Linked DNA regions of Homo sapiens: region 1 is linked to region 2. The links are contacts of gene promoters, found by promoter capture Hi-C in blood cells and fetal thymus (Javierre and others, 2016). All regions are on one chromosome and are shown on one strand. The core of a region is centred on a gene start or on the middle of the fragment in contact, and the rest is flanking DNA. Distances in the headings are between cores, read along the strand shown. Region 1 overlaps PTPRC (protein tyrosine phosphatase receptor type C). Region 2 holds the start of NEK7 (NIMA related kinase 7).

Region 1 (5,195 bases), core at 518-3,017, 530 kb after region 2:
TTATATAGGTCACATTTAGCGTGTTCCTACTTTAAGACTGGTAAAATGTTTAACATTAAAAAGACTGAAAAATAGATTTATGTAATCTAGTGCACATGGCTTATTAAAATTGATATGTTGCTTTAAGTTGCATCACTCTAGTGCATACCTTATTTCCTTAGGGGCATTGGCTTAAATTTTAAAGTAGTTTTTAATTTAAAATTTTTATTTTAAATAGATTCTATGTGTTTTTTTCAGGCACGAAAACATTTTTATGTCATTTATCATGTTGACTAAAAGTGTTACCAAAACTAAAAATCTGTTTATAGGGATTTTATGACCATGAGAACAAGCAAGTTGAGTCTTACACTAAGTCTAAACAGTGATGCTGAAGTCTTGGAATTTTCTTTTAAAAAGATAAAATGGTGTGTGGGGTGTGTGTGTGTGTGTGTGTCTGTGTGTGTGTGCACGCACATATTTGAAATAGTATATAAAAATGAAATAAAACATAGATTACAATGTTTTAGTGTCACCTAAAAATCACTCAGTGGAGGAATTTAGAATCATATCCAGTGATAAATCAGTGTACAAGCAAACACATATTCAATTCAAGAGGCCTTTATGGGAAGTAAGCATGAACATAGAAGAAAGGAAAATGTTGGCTCTTTAGATATTATACTGTTTTCCAGGATATTAAATTTTGCTGCATTAAAGATGAAAAGATTCGAGGAAATTTTGAATATGGAGCGATGATGAGATCAGAAAAAAATGTATATGTATGCCCATTATTCTGTCCTCTAGCTCCAGAAACCTCTTAACATCTAAACAAAAGGTCTGTAAATTTTAATAATTGTGCTTGATATTAGTGTAGTTTGGTTGACTTTCCTGTCAAAATAGTATTCTGTAATAAATTAACTTGACACACCTCTAAATTTTCTCTAATATTTGTTTGTACCATTATAGAGCATTCACTCAGCACATTGTGATTTAATCTGCATATCTATTTTTAGGGTCAAGGTTATTTTAGCATTTGTAGCACTACTAGTAATTTACTTGCAGCCAAATTATGATTAAGATGCATTTTTACTTAGCTCATGAGTTTTTAATAAACACCTTCTGTAAAAGAATTCTCATGCTTAAAATTTCATATGAAGAGGAAAGGCTGTAAGGACAAGTTGATGGGAAAAGGGGACGCCTGATGAATGAGAGCATGGCCTGTAAAGTCAGACAGGCTCAGGTTCAAGTCTGGCTCACATATACTAGACTGGCCTTGTGAACTTGGCCAAGACACTTGACTTTTCTAAGCTTCTTAGGGTTTTTGTGGTGCTTAAGAAAGAAAACATAAGCAAAAGACTTAGTATAGTGCCTGGCACCCAGTAAACACTCAATAAATATTAACAATTAATAACAATAAAATATTATTTCTAAATTATTCTTTAAAAAAGTAAATCATTAGAAACAGTCTTCTCCGTTTTGGTAATTTACCTCTTGTCCTTCTTTTCAGAAGTTAGATTAAAATAATATACATCATGTATTTCTTTTAAAAAACGTATTGCCTTTGGACCACTTGGAAGTTTATTAATCTCTCTGAGACATGGAACATATACGTAGTCTGATGAATAGTGTACTGGTTGGAAACAGTTCTAGTATATTTACTCAGGCATTCACAGTTCTTTTGTTAAAAAACAAATAGCTTCACATAGTGTCCCAGCATTTTTCTTCTCATTTCTGTGGTAAACAGATGATGAATTATAATTTTCTTTTATGAAACTCTATCTATAGTTGGTGCTACACATTTTGGTGACAACAAAGTAGTAAATCAGAACAACAGAATATAGGGGTCTGTGGAATTAGTGGTGCAGGTAACATTAAGATTTCTCTTTTCTCTGTCATCAAATTTGCTTTCTGATTTCTCCTCTGTATTAACTGATCCAATGGCTTCCGTCATTCTGAGGAAAAAGTTCAAGCTCCTTTTCAAGGCCTACAGTGCTTGCTCCTTGGCTCTTCTCCTAAAGCTGTTATCATCAGATCTGTTTGATTTCTCCTTTGCACTTACTCATGCTTAAAAGAATCCAGCAATTACTTATCAATCACTTCTTATACACAAGACTCTTTGCTACAGCTATTTCTCTTTCTTCTCCTCCTCTTCCTCATCTTATTATGTGATTCATGCTGATGTTGATGCGAGAAATTTTGATTATTAGTCTTAATCAGGTGTATCCATGACTAAAATGTCATTGCAGATGACTAGATATATGTGTTTTATGGGTTATAAGCTTATCCAGGGCAAGGGTCATGCTTTTATCATGTTTGAACCTAGTCTCCAACAGCATACCAGCAAAACAATGTATGTTTCTTGAACCTAAGTGAACTAAATTAACTTGTTTCAAGTTCCAAGGAATGAGGTGCTTGCATGAGAAGGGGCATATCAACCTAATTTTAGATATGTAAGAGCTCATGTATTTCTCAGATAAAGAAGAGATATGTGTTGTATAAAGTATGTTCACACACTCAAAAACAATTTGAATATTTTAAATTTGGTGATATGTTTTGTTCTTCACAAACAATGAAGGACACTTTTCCTTTCACTTCAAACATGAGAGCTATTAGTTATTGCTATACTAATATTTTTTTCTTATTACCTCTTTTGCAAATCAACACAATTCTAAGACTGTAATTTACAAGGAAATAAGAACAAATAAGGAGAGCGGAATGCTGTTAATGGGAACATAAACATAACAATAGTTTACATGAAACAGAAAGATAAAAGCTAACTAGATAAGAAAAGGGACAAAAGTACAAACAATATCAATTAAAAACAATATTTAAGTATGAATTATTAAGAAAAAGAGAAATGTAATGAGAAAACAAGAAAGTCATTATGTTAATAATTATGTATCACCCATCAATGATATAAAAATATATATATCAAAAATGCATTTTACTTCAAGGAATAAGCCAGGGAATGTCATTGAAGAATACGGGGTGATGCTCCTTGGATGGCAACTCTGAAGGAAGAAAATGTTTTCACATCAGTTTGTTCTCAGAAGATAAAATATAAAGGCAGAAAGTCACCTTAAGTACCAGCTAATTCACTTTCCCATCTGATCTCTGATTCTCTTTAACAACCTGAGTTTACAGTCATTTGGAAAAGAACTTTACAATCTTTTAAATAGGCATTTACTAAGATGAGGGATGAAAACATTGCACTTCACTGTAGACTGAATCTAGTTCCCATCATGCCAAGAAAGCTGCTCTTTTCAACATTTCCACAAACCCAGATGATAAATCCAGTTGACCCATGTTAATGCACCATGTTTATCCTGCATGTGAATCCCCATATTATTTGACTTCAACCATTTCCTTCTCGAAACACCCTCTACTCTTTATTCTTGTTTGCTACAGTTTTCCTCTTACTTGGAAAATTTGATTACCTATGCTGGCTCTCTCCTTAATATTCACTGAACTTCAGGATTCTATCCTGGACACTTCTCTTTTATGTAGTTCGGTGATCTCCTTCACCTCTGTAGCTGCAAAATGTATCTATATGCTGATCTATAGCATCAGCCCAGATGTATGTCATGAGCTACAAACCTCTATATTCAAATGCTATTATACATTTTCACATGAAATCTCAAGCAAATTCTGATTCACCTCTCTACTCACTGTTTATTACTCTCAAGTTCAGTGAAACTATAACTCACTAGCATGTTAAACTATCAATCTAGATATTTTCCTTATTACTCTTTCTCCTTTATTCTCACTTGAAAGGATTTACAAAGTCTTGGTGATTCTTGAGTGTTTCATAGGTCCTTTTCCCCCAACCTTTCTTTTGGGGTATACTCTTCCTACGTAGGACATCATCTCTGTCTGTTTTGCTTTGGTTTTGGTCTCCTGATTTTCCTGCCCCCACCTTTGCTCTTTAATAATCCATTTTCCATTTCCTGAAAGGTTGATCTAAAATTCAAATGTTTCTCCTTTAGGCCTCCCTTTAAAGACATCCCTTTAATGGATATCTAAAGCCTGTAAGATAAATCCCAGCTTCTTATTCTTCTGGGACCAAGCTAGCTATATGCAATCCTTTAGGTTGTAGCTTAAATACATCCAAGAAACCCTCTGTATCAACTCCTTTACCAGCCAACCACCAACTCTGGAAATATAAATAAGATGATCCTGTTATGTTCTCCTTTAGCACATTCTGTATCACCTGTCATCACACTGTATTGATTGATTGTTTTTGTTTATATCTCACACTAAATTGAGCTCATTGAGGGCAGGGAATTTTTATATGTTGGTCATATTATATCCCTAGCATGTGGCATAATGTCTAGCACAAAATAGGTGCTCAATTAATCATCATTATCTAAATAAATAATGCATTTGGGAAAAAAAAGTTTCAAAAGTTTTTCAAAAGTCTTTTGCAGGCTTGAAATTAATCCCAATAGTGATCCTTTAGTCTGTTATGTTTCTGATTTAGCCTGGGGATTCAAAAAATAAATAACATAATTTTGATATATTTGGGCTTTGTAAACATGGTACTAAGAGAGGAAATATAGTTTCATTAGGGTAAAAGCTACTGAAAATTGCCACTTGGTGAATGTTCTATCATAGACTTGAGGTACATATAAAAATCTAATATATGTTTACATTAATATGAATGAAATTTGAAATTTTCTAAGAGATTTTTGTTTCTTCTTTGCAGGGCAAAGCCCAACACCTTCCCCCACTGGTAAGAATTAATATTTATATTTTTACTAATTTTATTTTCTTGTTGCAAAGTTTATATATTTAACTACAATTTTCTATTATTAACACTGAAATTATTTTTAAGGATAAATTTTATAATCATGAGTGATTCTTGACATTCACTTGTTCTTAAACTTTCTGCTTATACGTTATAGAGTTTAATAACTACCTAAACATGTTATTAAATTTGTATATATATTTTGTGTATAAATAGTAACTTTTCCCAAACTTGACAGTAAATCACACAACAGGTTTCTACTCTCTTTTAATATTTTAAGACTATAAAAAAATGCATTTAAATTAGATAACAAAATTTTATAGTCTGAAAGCAGGTTAACAGCTGTCTATGTATGTTATAGATATGTAGATAACAGATTTGCATATGTCTATATTTCTTTAAGAGTATGTTGCTTTTTTCAATGGTATGCAAAACCTTTGAGACTATTGAGATATTTTTAAATAATAATTTT
Region 2 (4,647 bases), core at 780-3,279:
CAATAGTCTTCTAACATCTAGTTGCTCTTAGGCTCAATCTGTTCTCCACAGTGCAGCTCTTCTCTCCCAACCCAAATCAGATTTGGTCACTCCTCCAATGGCTCTCCTTTTCATTCAGAATAAATTTTAAAGGTTACAAGATTCTACAACTATACCCTTCTTGTACCCTACTCCCTCTTCTGATTTAGTCAGCTGCTTTCCCACCGCTCACTGAATTCTAGCCTACACTGACCTCCTGCCTATTTCTCAAACATGCCAAGCCCACTTCCACTTAGGGTCTTTGCATTTGCTGATCCTTCTGTGTAAAATATTCTAACCCTGGGTAGCCAAATGGCTAATTTCTCACTTCCTTAGTTCTCTGCTCAAATGTCAGAGAGGCATTCCCAGACAAACATATTTAAAATAGCATCCTCCCTCCCCATGTCTCCCTACCCTGCTTTATTTTTCTATGACTCACCATCTGGCATAGTAGGTATTTATTGGCTTTTTTTTTTTTTTGGCCTTTCCGACTACAATATAAGCTCTATGACAGCAGGCACTGTATATCTCGGTGAGCTGTTGTATCCTCATTCCTTAGAACATTGCCTAGCCCATTTATGAATATTTGTTGAGCCACATGAATCAAGGCCTCCTTTTGAGATCGTGAACGTTTTCATTTATTTATTTATTTTTTTGAGACGGATTTTCGCTCTTTCACCCACGCTGGAGTGAAGTAACGCGATCTCTGCTCACTGCAACCTCCTCCCCGCCTCGGGTTCAAGCGATTCTTTTGCCTCAGCCTCCCCAGTAGCTGGGATTATAGACTCCTGCCACCACGCTCGGCTAGTTTTTGTATTTTTAGTAGAGACAGGGTTTCGCCATGTTGGCCAGGCTGGTCTCGAACTCCTGACCTCAGGTGATCACCCCCCCCCCCACTTGGCCTCCCAAAATGCTAGGCTTACAGCCATGAGCCACTGCGCCCGGCCATTTTTCTTTTTAAAAATAAACTTTCCAGATCTTAATTTCATGGCTTTAACATTTTAAATGTTTGAGGTATAATCTACTCATTCTTGGCTCTAATCTTTTTGTCAGGGAAGTTAAACTAGTGAGAGACCTATGAACAACAGCAACAATTTAATGAGCACGTCTTATATGCCAAGCTTTGTGGTTAAGCACTTTGCTTTATCTCACTTAATTCTAACTATGGTCCTAGAGGTTGGTATTACAACTAATCTCCTTTTACAGAGAGTTACTGAGACTTGGAGAGGTTAAATAACTTGCAGCCAGGTCACAAAATTAATCACTGAGTTGAGACGACAATTAAGGTATGGCCGACTCCATACTGCCTCCTAGCCGTCTCCTCGAGTAGTTCATGCCCTGTTAACTTAAGTCGTGAAGCTGCTGGTGTCAAAGCATTCCTTTTGCAGTTTCGTGTACTAGGGTTCTGGGTGATTTTGCACATATTTATTTCAAAGATCCTCCGTACCACACCAGGGAGTTTACCTTCTGGAATGTTGTTGAAGCCCCTGTCCTCTATGCTGGGACACTTTCATGCAACGTTTGCTTAGCCAGACTCAGGAAAACGCCTTTTTTTTTTTTTCTCATTTCCCTGCACTCCACATTAAACACAGAGGTAGTTTAAATCACCTGGTAAAAGAAGATGGGATCACAAACGCTGTGGTCCAGAAGGGAACATCAGTAAGTCGGTTCACCGCTTGCAAGTGGGGGCACTTACATATAAATGAAGAAAAAACAAGTTCTTAAAAAGCAGCCGACCCTGGGTTCTTAAAAAGCAGCCGGGGAAGAGGGCTCAGGGGACCGGACGCGGTGCCCCGCACCACGCTAGGCCTGACAACCGGAAGAGAGGGGCCAGGAGGGGCTCCTCCAGAGCGACTTCGGCTCCAGTAGGGAAACCGCCGAGGCTCCCCCAGCTCCAGGGAGCGCCGGGGACGCAGGCGGGAAGCCTCCATCGGGCAGCCGGCCTGGACTCACGACGCGGGGTGGGGCCGGCGCCCGCCCCGCCCCTCTCCTCGGGGATGCCGGGATGTTTACACTCCTGACAGCGGCGGCAGCAGGAGGAGGATCGGGAGTCGCGGGAGGATGGGCCGCCGCTAGGCTCGCACTCCGGACGCGCCTCGCAGTGCGCAGGGTGGGTGCCCCGCGCCTGCAGCGTCCGCCGGGGCGGCGCGGCGGGAGGTGGCCGACAGGCTCCGGGCCTCGCAGCCTCAGCCCCCGGCCCAGCGCGCTTTCCGACGGCGGCGCCGCGCCGAGCCACCCGCCCGCCCAAGGTCTCTCGCGGGCGGGAGAACGGAAAACTCCCAACTTCCTGGTGAGTCGCTGCCCAGGGTTCAGGCGCCCGGACCGGGCAGCTCCTGCCGGGAGGGGCCGCCTGCGGGAGTCGGGCCGGGAGAGGGAGGTCGGGACCGCGCGGGGCGGCCTCCGGGATACCCTCGCTCGGGGTAGGTGGGGCGGGGCGCGCTGCGCTCGAGGCGGATGGGGGTTTCGGTCTTGTTCGTTGGCAGCGGTGGGAGGGGGCGGCAGGAAACTTCATACCTGGCCCCGGCTCTAGAGGCCCGAGGCCGCCAAGGGCGCCGCGGTAACTAAGAAACTCCGTGGCCACGGCGGCGGCGGCAACAGGTCTTTGGTTTCGGGACCCGAGGAACTTAAGCGAAGTCCCGCCTTCCGGCGGATGCTCATTGGCGACGTCGGTTATTTATCTCTCGCGGATTGGTGAAGTCCGTCTGTCAGGATTCGGCAGCAGCCCGACTTAGGAAAGTGAAGTGCGCTGGGAGAGAGTGGGTGGTGGGAGCCGGCAGATAGGGGAGAATCCGAAGTGGCTTCAGAAGTACAGGGAGCGTGAGAGGTCTGTCGGAGAATGAACTTGGGAGAGACTCGGGATTACAAAATGTCGGAGAGAGGGATTGCGAGGCAATAGCGAACATTGCTGGTGATGGTGGCAATGGAAAAGAAATTGAAAACTGAGGCCAAAGTCAGAGAAGGGTAGCCAAAGGAAAACAGAGAAAAGTGACAAGACCGTATGACCGCAGAACAGTGTAAGGAAGCGAGCACAACCTAGAGGATGCTGCCTTGAGAGCTAAAGAACTTCTGTTGCCTCTGTTACACTGTAGGCCTTCACTCCTAAAACCGCAGCATCCTCTATTTAGTCTTGCACTGGGAGCGTACTGGGGTCGCGGAGAGATGATGTATCGTGTTCTCACCTTGCTGTAGTCCTCACTGGGGAGAAATGCTAAAAAATATACTTAGTTTACAGTAAGATACATGTTACTGTCCTTGCGCAATTCTGGTGACTGAACTGAAAATCAGAAATACACAGAAATAAAATGATTATTCTCCTTTGAGGTTACTGAGCTCAAGGATGCAATTGAAAACACCACATTTCCATAGTTTGTAGAGCCTAATGTACCCATCATAATGGGAACCACTGTTTCTAGTTCCTCCTCCAAGGAATTTACAGTTTCAAGGCTATGCACACTCCCTCCAGGCGACAGCAGTATGTCTTGTCAGGTTGCATTAGAGAATTAAAGTACAGAGTATGTGTATTATAAATATGTTCTGTTCAGGACCTTGAGCTGCTGGTGGTGTGGTCGAAGAATGGCATAGTCCTTGCACTCAAAAGCTACAGTATGTTTGGGACAACCGGTCAAACCCTGAAAACGGTGAACAGTAAAACAGGAGATACAGTTAACCCTCTAATGCTTTGTGGCAACTCTTGTTGAATGGCCGCTGAGTATTCTTGGTTTGTAACACTTGGTGATGGCCAAGTGCTCTTGAAACAGCTAACTTAAAATCTCAGCAGTTATTTTATTTCCAGAGGAAGGAATTCTCTCTCCCTCGGCGAGATCCAGTCCACAGCTTGCTTCACTCTTAGAACAGCGGCATCCTCTATTTGGTCTCGCACGGGGAACTTGCTGGGGTAGGGGAGAGGTGTTAGAGCTTTGAAAAAGCTTTGCCTCTCGGAGGAGTCAAAGGGGCAGTAACTGTATGGGGTGAGAGGAAGGCCTGCGAAATAAAAAGGCAAAGGAACCGTTTGAGGAGGCTAGTTGCCTTCTCGGGGCCGGTGTGTGTGCGGGGGTAGTGTTAAGGGGGAGGAAGGAGCCCGGGAGCCCGGAGGACCCTCCCGGAGGTGCGGGCCTGAAATTCCGCTGGGTGCCGGGAGGCTCCGCCCTCCGGAGTACTGACGGCCTTCGCAGCCAATGCGCAGCCAGGACCTCGCGTTCGGGAGGGCGGGTACTTCCTACTCCAGCCCTGGGCTCGGAGAAGGCCGCGTTAGTTCTTTTTCTAGGGATGTCTGCGGAAGGGGCGCCAGGCTGAGGGCCAGCCTGGAGAAAGAAAGAAAGGAAGGAAGGAAGGAAGGAGGAGGGGGGCTTCAGTTTTCCCTGAGCCATCCTAGGTGTCCCGTTTCGTGATTCAGCTGCACCTAGAACTTAACTACTACTGAAAGTTTATAGTAGATTAGAAGCGAAGTTGGTCAGCAGACTAAATATAGTCCATGTGACTGAGGCGGGTTTTACTCTGAAATTACCTGAAAATGAAAACCACTAAATGTCAGAATCTAAATCGTTAGGCGTTTTCACAACTTCTTGGGAATCTTTCCATGGTTAAAAATCTTACCAATTTAACAAGACTAACTTTATTTCTAAGCGTACA

What was found. The method cuts DNA at HindIII sites, captures the fragments that hold promoters and counts their contacts. A CHiCAGO score of 5 or more calls a contact.
Region 1: a fragment that was not itself captured here is called in contact with the fragment with the promoter of NEK7 in region 2 in 17 of 17 cell types (naive CD4 T cells, naive CD8 T cells, total CD8 T cells and 14 more); the score reaches 18.8 in naive CD4 T cells.

Annotation. Positions count from the first base shown.
Region 1 is chr1:198,687,666-198,692,860 of GRCh38, forward strand. PTPRC (protein tyrosine phosphatase receptor type C) reads left to right here. Exons shown (of 33, transcript NM_002838.5): 3 at 4,682-4,708. Among named protein-coding and RNA genes, the nearest start is that of PTPRC-AS1, 23 kb to the left of the region's middle. The HindIII fragment of the contact is 971 bases long and covers 1,283-2,253 here.
Region 2 is chr1:198,154,969-198,159,615 of GRCh38, forward strand. It overlaps NEK7 (NIMA related kinase 7), which reads left to right and starts at 2,030. Exons shown (of 10, transcript NM_133494.3): 1 at 2,030-2,308. RefSeq lists enhancers at 1,216-1,275, 2,706-2,755, 4,295-4,514 and a silencer at 1,866-2,465. The HindIII fragment of the contact is 2,805 bases long and covers 1,138-3,942 here.